2 separate regions of the Homo sapiens genome follow, and region 2 is linked to region 1. Evidence: promoter capture Hi-C in 16 types of primary human blood cells and fetal thymus (Javierre and others, 2016). All regions are on one chromosome and are shown on one strand. The core of a region is centred on a gene start or on the middle of the fragment in contact, and the rest is flanking DNA. Distances in the headings are between cores, read along the strand shown.

What was found. The method cuts DNA at HindIII sites, captures the fragments that hold promoters and counts their contacts. A CHiCAGO score of 5 or more calls a contact.
Region 2: a contact is called between a fragment that was not itself captured here and the fragment with the promoter of ERF in region 1, in 16 of 17 cell types (fetal thymus, naive CD4 T cells, naive B cells and 13 more). The highest score is 27.1, in fetal thymus.

The regions. Positions count from the first base shown.
Region 1 is chr19:42,253,037-42,256,930 of GRCh38, forward strand. ERF (ETS2 repressor factor) reads right to left here and starts at 2,092. Exons shown (of 4, transcript NM_006494.4): 1 at 1,942-2,092. The coding sequence starts at 1,963. RefSeq lists silencers at 554-713, 834-953, 1,044-1,113, 1,194-1,883, 1,894-2,293 and 1 more and enhancers at 1,649-2,148, 2,789-3,320. The HindIII fragment of the contact is 3,576 bases long and covers 1-3,432 here.
Region 2 is chr19:42,133,261-42,137,154 of GRCh38, forward strand. LNROP (long non-coding regulator of POU2F2) reads left to right here. Exons shown (of 3, transcript NR_038332.1): 3 at 3,412-3,839. It overlaps MIR4323 (microRNA 4323), which reads right to left and starts at 253; the gene lies at 185-253. It also overlaps a transcript of POU2F2 not described here. RefSeq lists a silencer at 1-127 and an enhancer at 408-457. The HindIII fragment of the contact is 1,520 bases long and covers 895-2,414 here.

The sequences.
Region 1 (3,894 bases), core at 842-3,341:
CAGAAGCACACCTGGGTCCCACAGAGGCGGGGTAGGGATTCTCCCAGACAGACTATGCAAGCCTGGGGGGACAAAACTCCTGGGCACCCCCCAACCTCACGTGACGGCCCAAACTTTTTTTAAGGGACTATGAGGGTCGGAAGGGAGGAGTGGTGGCAGAGGAAGAACACGCCGGCCTCCTGGGGGGCCCCACCACCTCCCCCACTCCAGGCGGCCCTCTATGGCGCCAGAGCCGGGAAGAAAACAGGAAGTGGGAAACAGCCACGGCAGAGAGAGGGACCGGGATGGAGAACTGGATGGAGGGGTGCGGAGCGGCAGGCCAGGAGGCAGACGGGAAAGATGCACCGATCGGAGGCCATTCCAGGCCTCCTTCCCCTCCCCTCCCCCAGCCGGAAAACCCACACACTGTCCCGCCCCCCGACAGGGTTGGGGAAGCGACCCGCGGATCCTATCAGGCCAAGGCCGGTAGCAGGGAGAGAAGATGAAGCGAGGTTGTCTGGGTGCCTCGGCCTCCTCCTTGGGCGAGGGTAGGCTCCTGCTGCCCCCAGGGCCCAGCCACCCGGGAGCGAGTGGAAGCCGGGGGAGTGTGTAGGACGCACGTGACTGACCCTACCGCACTCCGCACCCCGGCCCCACCCCCAGGGCCCCTCCTCGGTCCGGGTCCCAATCCCCTGGCGCCGGATCCCAGCTCGGAGCCCTTTAAGATTAAGCCGCCCCCACCCGCCGAGCAGGGGGATGGGGATGGGAATGGGGTGGGAATGGGGTGGGGATGGGGTGGGGTGGGTGGGCCGGTCGGGGCACACACCCGCACACAGGAGCCCGAGCCGCCGCCGCCGCCGCCGCCGCCGCCGGGGGAAGGAAACAAGTTTGAACAGCGGCGCCCGGCCCCCTTCCCCCTCCCCCGTCCCCGCCCCGGGCCGGATTCCGACGGGGTAGACGGGCAGGGGGCGGCTGGGACCCCTCCCCCTGCGCGCTCGGGCGCAAAGTCCAGCCCGCGCGAGCCCGGGGGCGGCGGGGGAGGGGAGGGGGAAAAGTCCGAGTGGGAGGGGGAGTTAATCCCGCTGCCCCCCGCCCGCCGACCGAGGGGGAGGGGAACCTTGGCCCCTTAAGGAGGAGCAAGTTGGCGGGGAAGAGAGGGGCGGAGGGAAGAGACGGCCCGCTGAAAGAGAAGAGGTGGATCCGGGAGGGGGGGCGAGGGGGGAGCCTCTGCGTCTCCCCCCACCTTCCCCACCCTCCTCAACCCCGGGCCACCGGTGGCGCGGGAGGAGGGTACCCAGGTCTCCCCGGAGCCACCTTAAAGCCGCGCGTTCTAAGGTCGGAAACAAAAAGTTCCTTTTTCGAACGTTCGGGCTGCGCTTTGGAACTTTGCGACTCGGCGAGGGCGGGGGAGCGAGGAGCCGACAGAGGCGGGCGGGGGAGGGGCGGCGCAGCCAGGACCCCGAGTCCCGGGCTCCCCACTCACGCCCTCCTCCTAGAGGCCATCCCGTATCCCCCGCTAACCTGGTGCAGGGCACGCGCCGCCGTGAAGGTCACCAGCAGGACCGCGCAGCGCAGAACCAGGGATAGCGGGCCCGGTGGACGAGCCCCCCCGCCCCGCACACGTCCCGGCCCCCAGAGTGCAACGTGACAAGAGCGGAGGGGAAGGACCCCGCCACCCCCGTGATCCCGGGAGTGGGGGAGAGCCCGGCCTGCGGGGTCCCGGTAGGGATACAGGACCAAGACCCGCAGCACCCACACCACTCCGCCCGGAGCCAGGAATCGGGGGTCCCAGGCAGCAACCCCGCTCGCGCCACGAGAAGCAACAGGTCTCCAGTGCTTGAGGGGTCCCCCAGAACTGGGGATCACTCGGGCTCCCCCGGACCCCTTCAGCCCCCCCAAAGTTTCTCCGTTCGGTTTCCCGGGGCAACAAGTCTCCCCCACACGTGCTGCCCCCGCCCCCACCTGTGTCCGCCGGGGTCTTCATGCTGGGGGGCCCGGGGCGAAGCGCCCCGATTCCGGGCCGCGGCTCCCGGCGCCCTCGCTGCCCCGTCCCGTCCCGCGCCCGTCGGGCCGCCCTCGCCGCCTCACCCGGCCTCGCCTCTCAGAGCCTCTCCCCTCCCCGCCGCCGCCTCCCGGGTTAATATCGCACTCCGGGGCCGGGACGCCCACGCCCCCCGGCCGGCGACGTCACCGCCGCGTCGCCATGGAGACACTGCGCCCGCCCCCTCCCCGCGCACTCACACACACGCTCGTCGGCGCGCAGCCACTGAGGACCGGCCGGCTCTGGGCTTAAAGGGGCCGCGCGGCGGGGGAGGGAGGAAGGAGGGGGTGGGGGTGGGATGGGGTCCCGCGGGTCATGACCCTAGTCAGAGGCTCCGAGTCTGCAGCTAACTTAAGTCTTCGGCACTCGCTACCTGCTGCCCCTCCTCCTCTCCTGCCCACTGCGGGCTCCAGAGTTTCTTTTGGGAGCCTGTATGGGAAAACGGGGGGCCCTTCCGAGGAAGCGGGGGTCAGAAACTTTTGTGGGGAGGGGGCAGAATCTTCTCTGCAGAGGGGCGGGGTCAGGACCTTAGAAGATGATGAAGACCACAGCATTTCCCAGCTTGGTTTTACCCAACCCCCCAACCCTGAGCCTGAATGGGGGCAGCTGTCCAGGGGTGGGGTGGAATGGGTGGGATGCATTTCCCAGCATCGGAAATGGGGAGGCGGCTGTGCCCTCCGCTCCTGTGGGGATGGGGTCTTGGCTTCCCTGATAACCCCCGTCCAGCTGGGGAGGAAGTGACCAGAGAGAATGCATTTGGAAGCCCCCACCACCACCGTCCCCAGGCTGCAGCTGTCCCGGGGATAGGGCTGGCGCCGGAGGTCCCCCCACGTCCACTACTAGGACCGGGGGTTCCGGAGGCGGGGCCGGGATACGAGGGGGCGACCAAAGTCTGAACAAATGTGCTCCCAAGGGGCACTGAGGGTCGCCAGGAGAGAGGAAGACAGGGCTTAAGATCGAAAGCCAGAGCGTAGAGAAGTGTTAAGTCTCCGTTCTCTGCCTCAGCCGGGAGGGAAGGATGAAGCCTGAGGCTCTGGGAAACAGGAAATCACAGCGCAGATCTGATGGAGCCCAGGAGCCGGCAGCAGGGTAGAGGCCAAATAGAAGCAATATTCACAGGCATAGCCTGGAAACAGAGTCTCAAAAAAGACTCTGAGGTTCCGAAGGAGGGGCGTATGGGTGGCGGGCGGGAGTTGGGGGGGCTGGGTGGGGGACGAATCCAGAAGATGGGCGGGGAGACAGAAAAGTCACAGATAGGGAAGGCCTGCGGAGCTCAGGCTCCCGGTACCCAGGGCTTCAATCCCAGCCTCCTCGCTTGCGGGGTACCTAGTCCACCTTAGACAGGCTCCTCACCAGTGCCTAAAAAAAAAAGTCTCAGGCCTCCTCCTTGGGGAGACCAAGGGCTCCAGGGAAGCTTTCCCCCACAACCCCCGGGAATTATGTAACCTTGCCTACGGACAGTACAGCTCCCCCACGGATATTGTAACCCTCTGGGAGCGGTGTGGTCCAGCAATAATAATCATCTTCATTGTTCGAATAACAGCTCCCGAATTCCGAGTGTTCATGATGTGCCAGGCACCGGGCCAAGCATTGTCAGGGGCATCTTCTCATTTAATCCTCACAAAATCCCAACGAGGGGAATTACTGCTGTTATCCCCATTTACAGATAAAGAAAGTGATGCTCTCTGAGGGAAAATCAGTCCACTAAATCTTACAGCCAGGAAGTATTGGAACTAAGATTCGAACCCAGATCTAACCAATTCCAAACCACCACATTTACCCTTTACCATTATGCTTTATTACCTCTTTTACTACCCCCTCCAAAAAAAAAAAAATGCAGATTTTCAAAGATACTACATCAGGGCCCGGCGCAG
Region 2 (3,894 bases), core at 405-2,904, 120 kb before region 1:
CCAGCCAATGGGCCGGAGGGCGGGGCCGGCTGCGGAGAAGGGAGCCCCTCCCTCCGCTCCCCTCCCCAACACCCTCCCAACACCTCCGCTCGCACACCTGCGAGGGTCACACAAAGGCGCAGGACTCCCGGCGCACCGCAGCTCAGACAAAGGCGCGCCCGAGTCCGCTGCCCTCTTCCTCTTGGTGCCCGAGGTCTGAGGCTGTGGGGCTGCCTGGCGTCTCCAGACACCCCACATGCCCGCCTGGGCCCCGCAGGACATCCTGCGCCCCGTGGCTGGGGGGCCCCCTAAACCACAGGTGCATGCACAGACGCCTGGACTCACCCTCACACACACAAGTATTTCTACAGATGAACCCCAGCACTTCACACACACACACGTGTGCACACACACGTGCATGAACACATCTATGTGCACAGGCCCCAACACCAGCCCTCCCTGCTGACGATGGTCACTCCCATATACTGATACCTCCTCTACTCCCTCACATGGACCCATGGGCACAAGGGCACTTCTACACATATGTGCCCAAGCATACTTCCTGGCCACTCGCACCCACTCACACACAGGCACACTCAGAAAGGGTATACTACAGGCACAACTACAGGAGTGCCCTCCCCTGACTGCACACGTGCCCTGTGCACCCAGACACACCCAGGCAAGCAGGTGGGCACAACAGGAAGGACTGGCAGTTCTCATATATGCACACGAGAGGTGACCGTTTCCCGGCATCTACACTCCACAACATCCCGTATCGTAAAGGCCATTTCACAGAGGAGATCCACAGACCACACAGCAACTGGCCACAGGATTTCTATACATGAGGGTCTTCCCGACAGCAGCCTGGTAGCAGTGGACACTGGAGCCTTGTCTCAAAGCGACATTTACGCAGTAAGCTTTGTTTTCAGTTAGGATTTGTTTTGGGGGGCTTGGAAATGGGGCTATAGGACATTATGGGGGGGGGCAAAACCTCACCAGCCACCCTTATGCTCCACCCTGGACAGACTCAACATCATCCACGTCAGGAACACGCTTTTGGATGTGACCCCATTCCAGCCCCCTAGAGCCAGCAGAGAAGGACCACCCACTTCCAGTGCGGCCAGGTCTGCAGTTCAGTCCTGGAGCCGGGGAAGGCTGTATACGCTCCCTGAGAGATGAAACAACCCCACACCTCTCGCCTCCCATGCTGGCTCCATTCTCAGTGCCTCAGACCAGAGCTGGGCCTGGTGAGGGGATCTTGAAGGAGGATGGGCCTGCCTGAGAGAGGATAGAGGGGCAGAGTTTGGAACACACTGGCAGCTGGAACAGGGAGGCTCAAGGCAGGGGGAGATGGTGGCCTCGTTGCCACAGAAGAGGCCTCGAGCCATGCTGAGGGAGGCAGGTAGGGCATGGGAGCTAGGGAGCAGTGGGGGCCACTTGAGGTGCAGGGAGCTGGGAGGGAGGCGGTACAGGGGAGGCCAGGCTGGGCTCAGGGCTGAGCGGTAATTAAAGGAGACGTAGGGGGCTCCCCAGGGCCAGCGGGGCTGGTAACTGACACGCGGGCCCCATTGCTCCGCTCATATTTCTCGCCGGATCGATACGTTTGACTCCCGACAAGACAATAATCGCTTGTACGCGGCCGGCGAGTCGATCAAATACATTATTAGAGCGAGGTCCCCCGGGGGCCCGGCGGGGAGTGGTGGGGGGGAGCAGCCAGCCCACCGGGGACAGCAGAGCGAGATTCTTCACCCCTCAGGGCCCCCCAGCCATGGCCTCTTCCTCTTGGCCACCCCTGGGGACCCTCTCTGTGGCTCAGTTCCCCAGCCTCTCTCTGAATGTCTGCTGCTTTGGTGATCTCTCTACTCAGCCCCCAGCATCATCCTTGCTCTGTGAGGGAACCCAAGGGTTCTTTCCCCATAGGCACTGCCCTCATCTGTAGGGCTGTGGCATGTGGGAGCTCAGAGAGGCTCCTCAGACCCCTAGCTTGGCAGGAGACAGGGAGACCAAGCCTCAGGCCATACTCTGAGTCCATGGCTGGGCCAGGAGATGAACTTGGGCCCAAGACTCAATGATACCCACCTCCCTCTGCCCAGTCCCCTTGCTGCATCTAAGCACACGGGGCTTCAGCAGCGCCCAGGCCAGGGGCAGCCTCTGGGGGGTTAGGGAAAGCTAACCTAGGGACCCAAACAAGCAGGAAAACAGGATGATAGGGGTGGCAGGAAAACAGGATGATAGGGGTGGCAGACAAACACATACACAAAGAGATGTGTGTCTGCTCCTGCTGCAGGGCCATGTGGTCCCCCAGTGGGCCTCAGAGACCCTCAAACCATGCCCAGCCTCAGCTCTGGCCCACCCGAGACACTGCTTGCCACTCTTGCCCACTTTCCTGGCTTCTAGGCTCAAGCCTATTTCCCCTTTTAAAAAAAATTAAATTAAGCTTTAGCTTTATTTTTAAAGTCCAGGCTCTTTTTTTTTTTTTTTCCTTTGAGACAGAGTCTCACTCTGTCGCTCAGGCTGGAGTGCAATGGCACAATCCCGGCTCACTGCAACCTCCGCCTCCTGGGTTCAAGCGCATCTCACGCCTCCTCAGCCTCCCGAGTAGCCGGGATTACAGGTGCACACCACCAGGCCAGGCTAATTTTTGTGTTTTTAGGAGAGACAGGGTTTCACCACATTGGCCAAACTGGTCTCGAACTCCTGAGATCATGTGATCCACACACCTCAGCCTCCCAAAGTGCTGGGATTACAGACATGACCTCAAGCCTATTTCCTGTTTACACACCTGCTTTGCCCTCTAGACCCGAAGTGCCCCTTTGCTTCTCCAGCAGCCCTAAGTCAAAGTCAAGTTCTGCTTAGGAGTATCCAGCATTCAGGGACTTAAAATATATCTTCCTCTTTGTCTTCATTAGCAGCAGCAGCCCCCACAGCATTGTGGTCTATGCTTTCCTTTTTTTTTTTTTTTTTTGAGACTGTCTGGCTCTGTCACTCAGGCTGGAGTGCAGTGGCATGATCTTGGCTCACTGCAAACTCTGCCTCCCAGGCTCATGCCATCCTCCCACCTCAGCCTCCCAGATAGCTGGGACCACAGGCGTGCACCACCACATCCAGCTAGTTTTGTATTTTTAGTAGAGACATGGGTTTTGCCATGTTGCCCAGGCTGGTCTCAGAACTCCTAGGCTCAAAGCCATCCACCCGCCTCAGCCTCCCAAAGTGCTGAGATTACAGTCGTGAGCCACTGTGCCTGGACTACTCTGTGCTATTTGAACCAATATATTATTTCTAAGTCCTCATGACAGTCTGAGGAGGTAAAGGTCTGCTATCATCCTCATTTTACTAACAAATTGAGCCTCAGAAAGGTGAAGTCTCCTGCCCCAAGTCACACAGCATGAGTGGTGGAGTCAGGATTTAAGCCCAGGTCTGTCCCCCTGACAGCTTGATCTCTCTGTACTGAGCCATGGAGCTCCTTCTTGGAGGCGTGAAATGCTCCCCATCCTTCAGGAGACAACAGCAACAGCCAGCCACTCCTTGTCCAGTCAGCAATGCTGGAATACCTCTGCAGCTCACAGTCCAACGCCCACAGCCTTCGAGTCAGTTTCTTGATATTCGGCAATGCACTGGACTCCTGATCCCATCAGCTCCTGGCTGAAGGTGGGCCAACCCTTCCCCATTTCCTTCAATTCAAACATTTCCTCATGTCCCTCAGTGCCAAGCCCTGTGCTGGGAGCTGAGGACCCAGAGGTGAGCTAGATCTAAAATCTGACCTCAAGGAGCTAACAGTCTGAGAGGAAGACTGGAGTGGATAAAAATACCTTGGTAATTTATCACTTAATAAATATCCAATAAATGCTATTATGTGCCAAGCCATTGCTAAGCTCAGAGAATACAGTGGTTAAAAGCAACCCATAGAGCTTATAG